Linked DNA regions of Homo sapiens: region 1 is linked to region 2. Evidence: promoter capture Hi-C in human tissues and cell types (Jung and others, 2019). All regions are on one chromosome and are shown on one strand. Each heading gives the region's core, a stretch centred on a gene start or on the middle of the fragment in contact. The rest is flanking DNA. Distances are from core to core; before and after follow the strand shown. Region 1 overlaps ARMC6 (armadillo repeat containing 6). Region 2 holds the start of ELL (elongation factor for RNA polymerase II).

What was found. Contacts are between HindIII fragments. The study calls those that stand out against the background at their distance.
Region 1: a fragment that was not itself captured here is called in contact with the fragment with the promoter of ELL in region 2 in 1 of the 25 tissues and cell types used here (spleen).

Annotation. Positions count from the first base shown.
Region 1 is chr19:19,034,468-19,041,579 of GRCh38, forward strand. All of the region lies in intron 2 of ARMC6 (armadillo repeat containing 6), which reads left to right. Among named protein-coding and RNA genes, the nearest start is that of ARMC6, 4.4 kb to the left of the region's middle. The HindIII fragment of the contact is 5,677 bases long and covers 2,406-7,112 here.
Region 2 is chr19:18,518,139-18,525,334 of GRCh38, forward strand. ELL (elongation factor for RNA polymerase II) reads right to left here and starts at 3,932. Exons shown (of 12, transcript NM_006532.4): 1 at 3,783-3,932. The coding sequence starts at 3,917. RefSeq lists silencers at 2,616-2,665, 3,396-3,705 and enhancers at 2,921-3,436, 3,437-3,952, 4,096-4,425. The HindIII fragment of the contact is 13,027 bases long and covers 1-7,196 here.

The DNA.
Region 1 (7,112 bases), core at 3,994-6,493, 520 kb after region 2:
AGGCTCTGGGAGTGGCAGGTGACGCCGCCCTTAGGGGAGGCTGGTGTTTGAACCAGAGTGGGTGTGGCTGGTAGAGGGACATGTGGATGGAGTCTTTTAGAGTCCCCAGCATGTCATGGCACACGTTTAATTTTCTTTTGAGACGGAGTCTTTCTCTGTCGCCCAGGCTAGAGTGTAGTGGCATGATCTTGACTCACTGCAACCTCCACCTCCCGGGTTCAAGGGCTTCCCCTGCCTCAGCCTCCCGAGTAGCTGGGACTACAGGTGCGCAACACCGCACCTGGCTAAATTTTGTATTTTTTTTTTTTTTGAAACGGAGTCAAAAGGAGTTCAAGCGATCTCCTGCCTCAGCCTCCTGAGTAGCTGGGATTACCGGTGTGCACTATCTTGCCTGGCCTTTTTTTTTTTTTTTGAGACGGAGTCTCGTTCTGTCACCCAGGCTGGAGTGCAGTGGCGCAATCTCAGCTCACTGCAAGCTCCGTCTCCTGGGTTCAGGCCATTCTCCTGCCTCAGCCTCCCGAGTAGCTGGAAATACAGGCACCCGCCACCACGCCCGGCTAGTTTTTTTGTATTTTTTTAGTAGAGACGGGGTTTCACCGTGTTAGCCAGGATGGTCTTGATCTCCTGACCTCATGATCCGCCCGCTTCGGCCTCCCAAAGTGCTGGGATTACAGGCGTGAGCCACCGTGCCCGGCCCTGGCTAATTTTTTGTATTTTCAGTAGAGACAGGATTTTGCTATGTTGGCCAGGCTGTTCTCAAACTCCTGACCTCAAGTGATCTACCCGCCTCAGACTCCCAAAGCGCTGGGATTATAGGCCTGAGCCACCGCACCTGGACAGCACAGTTTTCTTGATGAGCAGATTCCTGGCTGAGAGAAGGAAACTGGCTGCCAGTTAGGGGCCTTACTCATCTTCTGTTTTACCCTCAGCATGCCCTGATGGATAATAGGGACTGGTAATGCTGCTTCCCCCTTTTAGCCTAGGCTGTTCTCCAGGTAATTCTTACTTGGCCATCTCCAGGCACCATCTTATGTGTTCCAAATCTGTACTTTCCTCCTCCAACTCAGCCCTGTACCAGATCTAGGGGACCTTGGAGGACTCAGGTCAGGGGTGGTCACAGAGCCAGACCTTCCCAACTCAGTCAGCTCAGGGGTGGGTGGAAGGGAGGGGTTGTGGGTTGGGGAGTGAAGCCAGAGAGTGTGGGCTCTCTGAGTGGCCAGGAAAGGCAGCCACCTGGAAGGGCTGGCAGAAGCTCCACAGAGGACTGAGAATCCGAAGTATTTGAGACAGGTGTCAATCAGTTAGAAAGCTTATTTTGCCAAGGTTAAGGACATGTCTGTGACACAGCCTCAGGAGGTCCTGACAACATGTACCCAAGGTGGTTGGGGCACAGCTTGCTTTTATACATTTTAGGGAGACGTGAGATATAAATGAATATGTGTAAGATGGTCACAGGTAGAGACAAATGATTGCTTTCTTTTGAGTCTTTGGTCAGCCTTTCACAGAATACACGATTTATATGGGGTACAGGGCAGGTAGAGGAATAGTCATTTATGCCTCAGTCCGACTCATGAATCTGAGGTTTTGTTTCTTGTTTTTTGTTTTATTTTTTGAGATAGAGTCTCGCTCTGTCGCCCAGGCTGGAGTGCAATGGCGCAATCTTGGCTCACTGCAACCTCCACCTCCCGGGTTCAAGCAATTCTCTTGCCTCAGCCTCCTGAGTAGCTAGGATTACAGGCGCCCACTACCACGCCCAGTTAATTTTTATATTTTTAGTAGAGACGGGGTTTCGCCATGTTGGTCAGGCTGGTCTCGAATTCCTGACCTCAGGTGATCCACCGGTGTCAGCCTCCCAAAATGCTGGGATTACAGGCATGAGCCACGGAGCCAGGCCAAATCTGCATTTTTACATAAACGTTAGGGCAGAGAGAGCAACTGGATATGCATTTGTCTCAGGTGATGACTTTCTGTCCTGCACTTGTGAAGATCACCTGTCAATTTACATTGCCAGGGTGACATTCAACAAAATTGTTTTCAGGTAAAGATCTTGAGGGCCACAAGGAATTTCCTGGCCTGGCCGGGGTGGTGGGAGTGGAGTCCCCTACTCCTTACTCCCTACTGAGAAACTCTTTATATTACTCTTCCTTCACCTTTAACCTTGGAAATCCATAGCAGCCCTTAAAGAGCTCCCTTTTCTTCTGGGGCAGAAAGGAGAGGGGCCTATCTGCAAAAGAGTGAGATGGGACTCCTGCATAAACTTGCTGAATTGCCTCTTAAGCAACAAAGGAAAGGAACAAATAGCTAATTTATTGAGCCTGTCCATATCCTGTTCTGAGGAAGGTATAGGAGTTGGCTGAATTTTTCACTACTGCCCTATGAAGTAGATTCGTGTTTATCTCTGTTTGACACATGAGGGAATTGAAGAAAAGTGTATCTGGCTGGGCGTGGTGGCTCATGCCTGTAATCCCAGCATGATGGGAGGCCGAGGCAGGTGGGTCACCTGAGGTCAGGAGTTCGAGACTAGCCTGGCCAACATGGTGAAACCCTGTCTCTACTAAAAATACGAAAATTAGCTGGGCGTGGTGGCGTGGGCCTGTAGTCTCAGCTACTTGGAGGCTGAGGCACAAGAATCGCTTGAACCCAGGAGGCAGAGGTTGTGGTGAGCCAAGATCGTGCCACTGCATTCCAACCTGGGCGACAGAGCGAGACTCTGTCTCAAAAAAAAAAGAAAAGGGCATTGAAGTGGAGGGCATGGGAACTGGGTTCTGCAGGCTGGCTGCGAGCCAGTCCTTCTCCCGTCAGGCAGTGTGCAGTCCATGGTGGGCATCTGCAGGAACACAGATGGAATGTGTATATCCCATGCCACTGCCTGAAAAGAGAAGCATGGGCCAGAGTGACCTGTTTCTTTTTCCTTTTTTTTTTTTTTTGAGACAAGGTCTTACTTTGTCACCCAGGCTGGAGTTCAGGGATATGATCTCAGCTCACTGCAGCCTTGACCTCCCTGGGCTCCCACCTCAGCCTCCCAAATAGCTGTAACTACAGGTGCATGCTCCCACACCTGGCTAATTTTGGTATTTTTTATAGAGATGGAGTTTCGCCACGTGTCCAGGCTGGTCTCAAACTCCTGGCCTCATGTGATCCTTCCGCCTCGGCCTCCCAAAGTGCAGGCCACCATGCCTGGCCTGAAGTGGAAACTTGATAATTCCAGAACGGAAACTTGATATTACTGCAATAAGCAAGGTGGATATATTGAAACAATTAAAATTTAAAAAGTTGTTAACCTCTGTTAGGCTCTGGACCTAAGGCCTGTTCCTCCTTTTGTTCCAAAGGGACGGTGGCAAATGTTAGGTTCACTCGTACCCTGTCAAGACCTTCTGGTTAAGATCATCTACAGCAGGGGTCCCCAATTCCTGGGTCACAGACCCATACTGGTCCAGTGGTCCCTGGCCTGTTAGGACCTGGGCTGCACAGCAGGAGGCAAGCGTAGGGTGAGCGAGTGAAGCTTCATCTGTATTTACAGCAACTCCCCATCACTTGCATTATGCCTGAGCTCTACCTCCTGTCAGATCAGCAGCATTAAATTATAGGAGCACGAACCCTACTGTGAACTGCACATGCAAGCGATTTAGGTTGGGCACTCCTTATGAAAATCTAATGCCTGATGATCTGTCACTATCTCCCATCACCCCCAGATGGGACTGTCTAGTTGCCAGACAACAAGCTCAGGGCTCCCACTGATCCTACATTACAGTGAATAGTATAATTATTATATTACAATGTAACAATAATAGAAATAAAGTGCACAATAAATGTAATGAGCTTGAACAATCCTGAAACCATCCCCACCCTAGCCCCACCATATCCATGGAAAAATTGTCTTCCACGAAACTGGTCCCTTAGGCTAAAAAGGTTGGGACTGCTGAGCTACAGGTTTGAAACAGAATTGCAAAGGGATTTGGTGTTTTTACCAAGAGTTTTATCTTACTTAACTCTATGTCTTGTTCCCACCTGTCAGAGTGGAAGGTACTGCCCAAGGTTAGTGGGTCATCTAAGTGTTGATACCTACCCCTGGTTTCCAGGGTATGCCTATACTGGGTTTTACTTGTTTGTTTATTTATTTATTTTTTGAGACGAAGTCTTGCTCTTGTTGCCCAGGCTGGAGTGCGATGGCGTGATCTTGTCTCACTGCAACCTCCACCTCCCTGGTTCAAGCCATTCTCCTGCCTCAGCCTCCCGAGTAGCTGGGATTACAGGCGCCCCACTAATTTTTGTATATTTAGTAGAGACGGGGTTTCGCCATGTTGGTCTTGAACTCCTGACCTCAGGTGATCTGCCTGCCTTGGCCTCCCAAAGTGCTGGTATTACAGGCATGAGCCACCATGCCTGGCCTTACTTGCTTATTTTTATTTTATAAGGTGGGTTTGTGTGTATACACACACACACACACACACACACACACATTTTTTTTAAGAGATATGGTCTCACTGTGTTGCCGCAGGCTGGTCTCAAACTCCTGTGCTTGAGTGATCCCCCCGCCTTAGCCTCCCAAGTTGCTGAGATTACAGGCACAAGTCATTGCTCAGTTCTTTTTGTTTTTAAACAGATTAGCACTTTAAGAAATTGAGCTATAATTTACATACCATAATATTCACTCATTTGATTTAGTAATTTTTTTTTTTCTTCTGGAGACATGGTCTCCCTCTGTCATCCAGACCGGAGTGCAGTGGCCCAGTCACAGCTCACTGCAGCCTTGAACTCCTGGGCTCAAATGATCCTCCTGCTTCAGCCTCCCGAGTAACTTCAACCACACGCAAATGCCACCACACCTGACTATATTTTTAAATTTTTTTGTAGAGACGGGGCCTTACTATGTTGTCCTTGCTGGTCTCAAACTCCAGACTTGAAACAGTCCTCCCACCTTGGCCTCCTAAAGCACTGGGATCACAGGTGTGAGCCACCATGCCTGGCCTGATGTAGTGATTTTACGTTTTCACAGAGTTGTACAACCATCATCACTATAATTCAAGAACGTTTTCATCACCCAGAAGGAAACCCTATACCCATTAGAAGTTACTCCCCATTCCCTCTCCTCCAGTCCCTGGCAACACCCAGTCTGCTTTTTGTGTCTGTGGATTTGCCTGTTCTGGATATTTCATGTCATTGGAATCGTGCAATATGAGGCTTTTCGTGTCTGGCTTCTTTGACGAGACATCATGTTTTTGAGGTCTATCTCCATTGTAGCATGCTTCAGCACCTCATTCCTTTCTCTGGCTGAGTAATATACCACCATGCGCACAGACCATTTTATCCATTCATCTGTTGGTAGACTCCGTCTCCTTTTCTTTGTTCTTGTGATTTATTTGTTGAAAACTCTGGGTGTTTGTCCTCTAGTTGACATTCTCTTCCCTAGTAGGGATTTTGCAGATCACATCCCCATGGTGTTGGTTAAGGTGTCAGAGCTGTGCTGTGCAATACCATAGTCACTCGTCACACATGGCTATTTACATTAACAAATTAAAATGAAATAAAATTACACACTCAGTTCCTCAGCCACACTGCCACACTTCAGCTGTGTGATAGCCACAGAGGCCAATGGCTTCTGTACTAGGCAGTGCAGATAGAGAACGTTTCATCATAGCAGGAAGTGCCCTGAATGCATGATCAGATTCGGGTTTGAGATTTTGGCACGATGACTTCACAGGTGCATTTTGTTCTTGTTCAGGAGGTAGGTGTTGCTGGTTTCTCTTGATGATGTGAGATCAAGCAGTAGACTGAGTTCCTGTCTACCCCTTGTTGGGCTCCCATCAGTTTTACACCTGATGGTTTTGGATCCTGTGGGATCATTATCTGTTTCTCTCCTGTCACAGCTGATCAGCTGGAATCGGAAGCAGAACTTTTCCTCATCCTCTTTTTATAACCTGGGACTCATTTGTACAAGGGAGGCAGGTTAAGTGCTAGGTTTTTTTTAAAAAAATTGTTACTAATTATTGTAGAGACAGTGTCTCGCTACGTTGGCCAGGCTGGTCTTGAACTCCTGGATTCAAGTGATCCTCCCATCTCAGCCTCCTGAGTAGTAGCTGGGAGTACAAGAGCATGCCACCACTCCCTGCCAAGAGCTGGATTCTTGGCCAGTTTTCAGAAGCCTGAGCTGTATTTGTTTTAGTATTATGAAAGCACAGAGTTTGACTTTTTTTTTTTTTTGCAACATCGTCTGACTGTCAGCCAGGCTGGAGTGCAATGGCATGATCTCGGCTCACTGCAACCTCCGCCTCTGTGCTCAAGTGGTTCTCCTACCTCGGTCTCCCTGATTGCTGGGATTACAGACGTGAGCCACCACACCTGGCCCAGATTTTGATTTTGATATGTACTGGATTTTTTTTTAATGCTCACTTGTCTCATCTGTAGCTACCAGGCATCCCTTAGGGTTTGGAAGCTTCCTTGCTTCCTGGTCTCACAAGACCCCAGCGTTACCTGCCCCATGACCTGCTGGGACTTGGAATCAGCCATTCCTCCAGAAGCCCTGGCTCCTTGTTTTTAAAGATTTTATGTAGAGACAGGGCCTCCCCATGTTGTCCAGGCTAGTGTTGAACTCCTGGCCTCAAGCCATCTTCCTGCCTCAGCCTCCCAAAGTGCTGGGATTACAGGAGTGAGCCACCTAGCCCTGGCCCCAGCTCCTTTTCGTGGGAAATGGTAGAAACCATACATGGTGTTAGAGGTATTCAGTGCTCCTGTGCTGTCATTTCTCCTAGGCATTTTTAGTTGCTATGACTAGAAAATTAGATCTTTGTTTACCTAAGAGAAAACACATGATGGGTTTATATGGATATTCCCATTTCATATATAGGAGTTCTGAGATTTTTTTTCTCAACTTTATCGAGGTATAGGATGTACTTTTTTTTGAGACGGAATCTTGCTCTGTTGCCCAGGCTGGTGTGCAGTGGTGCAATCTCGGCTCACTGCAACCTCTGCCTCCTGGGTTCAAATGATTCTCCTGCCTCAGCCTCCCGAGTGGCTGGGATCACAGGTGCCCGCCACCATGCCCGGTTAATTTTTGTATTTTTAGCAGAGATGGGATTTCACCATGCTGGCCAGGCTGGTCTTAAACTCCTGAC
Region 2 (7,196 bases), core at 2,682-5,181:
GATAACACCATTACACTCCAGCCTAGCAACAAGAGTGAAACTCTGTCTCAAAAAACAACAACAACAACAACAAAAACTAGGCCAGGCACGATGGCTCACTCTTGTAATTACAGCACTTTGGGAGGCTGAGGCAGGGAAATCACTTGAGCCCCGGCGTTTGAAATCAGCCTTGGCAACATAGTGAGACCCCGTCTCTACAAAAAAATTTAAAACTTAGCCAGGTGCAGTGGTGCACACCTGTGGCCCCAGCTACTCAGGAGACTGAAGCAGGAGGGTGGTAGTTCGAGGCTGCAGTGAGCTATGATCATGCCATTGCACTCCAGCCTGGACAATGGAGCAAAACCCTGTCTCAAAAAAAAAAAAAAAGGGGGCCCAGCGTGGCGACTCAAGCTTATAATCCCAGCACTTTGGGAGGCTGAGGCAGATGGATCACTTGAGGGGTCAGGAGTTTGAGACCATCCTGACCACATGGTAAAACCCCATCTCTACCAAAAATACAAAAATTAGCCAGGCACGGTGATGCGTGCCTGTAATCCCAGCTACTTGGTAGGCTGAGGCAGGAGAATCACTTGAACCCGGGAGGCGGAGGTTGCAGTGAGCTGAGATCACGCCAGCGCAATCCAGCTTGGGCGACAGGGCAAGACCCTGTCTCAAAAAAAAAAAAGGAAAGAAAAACTGCACAAAGTCCAAGGTAGAGTGAGAAGGCCAGCAGCTATGTGTACTGCTGCGCCTTTACCTTCCACCACGCTGCTCCAGCTGGCTACCAGGTCAACACCAGAGCCCTCTGGGGAGAGAAAACAGGAGGGCTTCTACCTGGGCTGTTCCCAGAGCTAGGATTACCTGCTCCTGGGAGCCACAGAGAAAGTTCCACAGCAAGTTCCTTTCTAGCCCCTGCCACACCTGAATTTGTAAAAGCCTCTTCACAATTAAAAACTAAAAATAGGCCGGGCACGGTTGGTCACGCCTGTAATCCCAGCACTTTGGGAGGCCGAGGTGGGCAGATCACAAAGTCAGGAGATCGAAACCATCCTGGCTAACACGAAAAATCGCACCACTGCACTCCAGCCTGGACAACAGAGCAAGACTCCGTCTCAAAAAAAAAAAAAAGAAATTAAAAATAAAAGCCCTCTCCACAAGTTGCAATTGGCAAACTATATAACCACAGCATCGAGGAATACAAAACTCTGGCTTCTGGGTGATAGAGTTGTCCACATGAGAGTTTGTCCATAACCAGTATATTTCTCTGGTTACACAATCAAGTTCTTCAAGCCACCTTCCTCAAGCTCACTACCCAAAACCACAGAGAGCACGGAGCTGCCGTGCCTTAGAAAAGTCCATCCACTATACTGCCCCATGGGCAAGATTAAATTCGAAAGTAGCCAAGCTGGCTGGGAGCAGTGGCTCATGCCTGTAGTCCCAGCACTTTTAGAGGCTGAGAAGGACGGATCACTGGAGGTCAGGAGTTCAAGACCAGCCTGGCCAACATGGCAAAACCCTGTCTCTACTAAAAATACAAAAATTAGCCGGGTGTGGTGGCACGTGCCTGTAGTCCCAGCTACTCGGGAGGCTGAGGCAGGAGAATCGCTTGAACCCGGGAGGCAGAAGCTGCAGTGAGCCGGGATCGCGCCACCTCAATGAAGCCTGGGCAGCAGAGTGAAACTCCATCTCAAAAAAAAAAAAAAAAAAGAAAGAAAGAAAGAAAGAAAGTGGCCAAGCCACTTAAATTACCAGACAGCTTTTTGAGAAAAATCCAAGTTTGAATCACCCCAAAATATAATCCAGCCAGCCAAGTTGCTCTGGATGGCTTGGAAAAGTTCTTCTAGGAAGCCCCTCCTGGCTGGTCAACACACTGCCCTACACAGCTGGGCTCCGAGCCAGAGGAGTTTAACAGTCCACAGTTACCTTCACCCTAACATGAGGAAGATCCAGCTTAGAGAGGGGATGTAACCAATACCCTAAAGTAAAAATAGCAGTGTGACAGCATGAGGTGGACACACAGGCGGACCTTCTGGACTGAAAAGCAAGCGAGGGCAGCATCAGAGAGAAGGCGGAGCTCCTGGTTCCTAAAGCACAGAAGACAGTGGTGACCAGGTACCAAGTCCATCGTAGTTATATGACTCACGAGCTCTCCCCCAGCTGTTTCTAGGAAAGCCTGCCTTCCTGCAGGACAAGTCAGAATCGCTCAGGGAAAAAGACCCAGGGCCAGAATTCTACCAGGAAGAGAGGCTCTGGCTGGTCATGGGCCAGCAGCTGCTGTCGCTGCCACTGTCTCCTCCTCACCTGCAGGGGCGCCTTAGCCTCATCTTGGGGAGTCTTTTTGACAAGGTGCGAACTTGCTCTTTCAAAAAAAAATGAAATCCTCATTCCATGAAGGGGAAAACTGCGACACCGGGACAGGGAGGAAATTGCCCAAAGACATGGGAAGAAGCACGGAAGGGGTGGGCACCGGGAGAGTGGTGGAAACGAAACAGGGGGAAGAAATTCTCGGCTTAGCTAATGGAGCTGAACAAGTTCGGGGCAGGAAGAAAGCCACATTCCTTCCTAGTTAGTCTCCCTCCTCCCCCGCCCGCGGCACCCCCCCACCCCCACCATCAACAGTATACACAAACACACACACACGCAGGGAGCAGGGCTCTCTGAGCCCGAGACTAGACCCACCCCCACTCCCTTTAGGGCAATGAAGCCCCCAATTTCCAGAAAAGGAGTTACAAGGTTCCTAAACCACTTCCCCTCGGGACCTGACCACTGGTCATCTGCAACTTCTGACCCAGCACAGACGGGGGGAGGGGGGGCCATGACACAAACAGAAATGAAAAAGGCAGGTTTCTGACCACGGCCCCAGATGCGCCCCAAAGTCAGGCCCAAGAGAACATACACAGCAGCCTCCCCTCCCCACCACCAGCCAGGTGGCAGAACCGAAACGCCTCAAACTTCCCCCAGATGGGCCCAAATCGGCCTCTGAGAAGTTCCAGAGTCAGCGGCCAGATGTGGTAGCCAGAGCTTCCTCCTGGGTGGCAGGGATCCCCTACATGTGCCCTGAGGATAACATCACAGCCGCCCCCAACACTTCCACTCTCCAAGGAACCTCTCTCCGGAGAGAGAGGGTCACCTGGGGGTAAGGGGAGCAGAAAGCTGGGACAAGCTGTCAGTTTCTGCCCAAACTCCCCGTCCCAAGAACCAAAGTGGCCCAACCTGAGTGGCTTCATCGGAACGCGTCAAAGCCAGCCCCCAGCTGCAAAGCCTTCCACCCAGACAGAACAGACCCCCACAAGTGCCTCGCTGACCACCCCCTGCCGGGCACCCAGACGATCGCTGCTTCCCAGGAGGACAGACACAGTCACCCCCACCAACGGCGCTGCCCCGGCCCCAGATGGAAAAGCCCCCAGCTTCCCCCTATCACGGTGCCGGGACCGTGCGGCCCACCGCCTCCTCGCCCCGCCGCCAGGTGCGCAAACTGGACCCTGCCCAGGTGCCCAGCAGGCCAGAAAGGCCCCGGACGCCGCCAGGTGCCGACACCGACGCCCCCCGGGCCCGGCGCGCGAGTCTGGGCCCCTCAGCAGCCCCGGGCCACCCGCCTGTATTGCCTCCTAGTGCTGAGAAGGAACGCGGTTCTCAGCGCTCCAGGCCGGACTGGCGCCCACTCCGCGCCCCGCCGGCCCAGGGACCCGCGAGCAGCACCACAGACCTAGCGTCTCCGAGCCCGGACGCCTCAGTGAGGGGAGCGCGAGGCCGGCCCGCGTCCGGACGTTCCCCACTGGCGCGCCGGGCGCCATGCCACTCACCTGTCTGGCGCGGTAGCTCTCGAAGGCCCTCAGGGCACTGTCGGTGAGCTTCACGTGGAACACCGACACCTTGCTGCCGTCGCTAACCCGCCCGCACGACAGCCCGTAGCTCCTATCCTCCTTCAGCGCCGCCATCTTGCGACCATCTCTCCCCCGCGCCCCCTTCCCGGCTCCAGCGCCGCCACGCCGGCCACGCCCCGCCCCGCCGCCCGCTGACGCGCTGCATTATTCATGAGACGCGGCTGGCCACGCCCCCCGAGTCCGACCAAACCAACAGTCGCCGCCACACCGGCAGGCAGCGCACTACATTATTCAGGAGACGCGCCTGGCCACGCCCCATGAGGGCCCCACAAGGCCCACAGTCAACGCCCCAAGTTGTTGCATATTCATAAGGCACTTATGGCCCCGCCTCTTCAGGCCCTAGGGGTGGCCACTTCCGTGAACGAACTCCGCCTCAACACGCGCACCCCTCCAGGCCCCGCCTCCATAGTATTATACATAACCCTGACTCAGCCAGCCAGGCGCGTCAAAGCCCCGCCCCTACAGCCGCTGACGTGATGCATTATTTATGAGATCTCTACAGTCTTCCGTCTTTGGCTTCTGTGGAAAGCCGCAGAGAGGGCGTGGAGGGGCGGAGCCGGCTCGAAACACGTGGGTGGGTAGGCCCCGCCGCGGGCCGGGAGGGTGGGCGTGGCTATGTAAACGGAGCGCGCGCGTTGGACGCTGGGTTGGACACATAAGGCATCCCTTAGGCGGGGTGGATGGGACTTCCACCCAGGGAAGGTGCTGGACCGGTAGGTGGAAGAGGAGCTGGTAAACTTTTTCTTATGAGATGAGTACTTTTAATAGGATAAAATCCTACATCCCCACAGTCCCTGAGCGATGGTGCAGTCCAGCTTCATTTTCCTATTTTAATTTTTTTTTGAGGGGTCTTGCTGTGTTGCCCAGGCTGGAGTGCAATGGCGCCATCATGGCTCACTGCACCCTCGACCTCCTGAACTCAAACTGATCCTCCTTGTCTGGGTCTGCTGAAATGCTAGGATTACAGGAGTGAGCCACCAAGCCCAGACTTCCATTTTCTTTTCTTTTCTTTTTTTTTTTTTTTGAGACGGAGTCTTGCTCATCAGCCCAGACTGGAGAACAGTGGCGCTATCTCGGCTCAATGCAACCATCGTCTCCTGAATTCAAGCGATTCTCCTGTCTCAGCCTCTCGAGTAGCTGGGATTACAGGCGCCCGCCATCATGCCCAGCTAATTTTTGTATTTTAGTAGAGATGGGGTTTCACCATGTTGACCAGGCTGGTCTTGAACTCCTGACCTCAGGTGATCCGCGCGCCTCGCCCTCCCAAAGTGCTAGGATTACAGGCGTGAGCCACCTCCCCCAGTTTTTGTTTGTTTGTTTGTTTTTAGACAGAGTTTCGATTTCCTTGCCCAGGCTGGAGTGCAGTGGTGTGATCTCGGCTCACTGCAACCACCGCCTCCTGGATTCAAGCAATTCTCCTGCCTCAGCCTCCCGAGTAGTAGCTGGGACTGCAGGCGCCCATCACAACGCCCAGCTAATTTTTTGTATTTTTAGTAGAGACGGGATTTCACCATGTTAGTCAGGCTGGTCTGGAACTCCTGACCTCAAGTGATGCACCCACCTCGGCCTCCCAAAGTGCTGGGATTACAAGCATGAGCCACTGTGCCCGGCCAGCCTTCCATTTTCTAAAAAGCAACTTCATTGAGTCACATTTTACATATAAAATATATTCCCAATGCTGTGTAGCTGTCACCACTATCTAATTTCCGAGATTTTTTTTTCTTTTTCTTTGAGACAGAGTTTCACTCTTGTTGCCCAACCTGGAGTGCAACGGTGCCATCTCAGCTCGTTGCAACCTCCGCCTCCCAGGTTCAAGCGATTCTCCTGCCTCAGCCTCCCGAGTAGCTGGGATTACAGATGCCCACCACCACGCCCAGCTAATTTTTGTATTTTCAGTAGAGACGGGGTTTCACCATATTGATCAGGTCTCTAACTCCCAACCTCAGGTGATCCGCCTGCCTAGGGCTACCAAAGTGCTGGGACTACAGGCGTGAGCCACTGCGCCTGGCCAAGGGAGGAGCTGGCTTGGAGGGCCAACCAGCTCGCTCTGTGATCTTGTGAAAGGCACCTCCTGCTTCTGAGCCTCTGTGGATTCACTTCGGAAACAGGAAACAGCAATAAGAGCAGTACTCAGGACCTAGCAAGGTGTCTCACACCTGAAATCCCAGCATTTTGGGATGCCATGACGGGAGGATCGCTTGCACCCAAGGGCTTGAGACCAGCCTGGGTAACAGGGCTAAGCCCCCTCTCTACAAAAAAATTTAAAAAATTAAAAAAATTAGCCGGGCATGGTGGAGCACCCCTGTGGTCCCAGCTACTCCGGAGGCTGACATGGGAGGCTCTCTCAAGCCCATGGGAGGTTGAGGCTGTAGTGAACTATGTTCGCACCACTATATTCCAGCACTCCAGCCTGAGTGACAGAGTAAGACCCTGTCTCCAAAAAAAAAAAAAAAAAAAAAAAAAAAAAGCCAGGCCCCCAGTGGCTCACGCCTGTAATCCCAGCACTTTTGAAGGCCGAGGGGGCTGGATCATGAGGTCAGGAGTTCGAGACCACCACGACCAACATGGTGAAACCCCGTCTCTGCTAAAAACACTAAAATTAGCCAGGCATGGTGGCACACGCCTGTAATCCCAGCTACTCAGAAGGCTGAGGCAGGAGAATAGCTTGGACCCAGGAAGCAGAGCTTGCAGTGAGCCGAGATCGTGCCACTGCACTCCAGCCTGGGTGACAGAGCAAGACTCGGTCCCAAAAAAAAAAAGTATTTCTCCACGTCTACTTTACATTTGATTCCCCAGTGGATCTCAATGAGACCCCAGGAAAAATAAGGCAGAACTTATCAGACGTTGGCATGCTCTGCAGAAGTTTCTTTTTTTTTTTTTTTTTTGAGACGGAGTCTCACTCTGTCGCCCAGGCTGGAGTGCAGTGGCACAATCTCGGGTTCACTGCAGCCTCCGCCTCCTGGGTCCAAGCGATTCTCCTGCCTCAGCCGCCCGAGTAGCTCGGGTTACAGGCACGTGCCACCACGCCTGGCTAATTTTTTGTATATTTAGTAGACGGGGTTTCACCGTGTTAGCCAGGATGGTCTCGATCTCCTGACCTCATGATCCGATGATCCGCCTGCCTCAGCCTCCCAAAGTGCTGGGATTACAGGCGTGAGCCACCATGCCTGGCCTTTTTTTTTTTTTTTTTTTTTGGAGACAAGTTCTCACTCTGTCACCCAGGCTGGAGTGCAGTGGCATGATCTCGGCTCACTGCAGCCTCCAACTCCTGGGCTCAACCCATCCTCCCACCTCAGCCTCCCAAGTAGCTGAAATTACAGGCATGCTCCACCA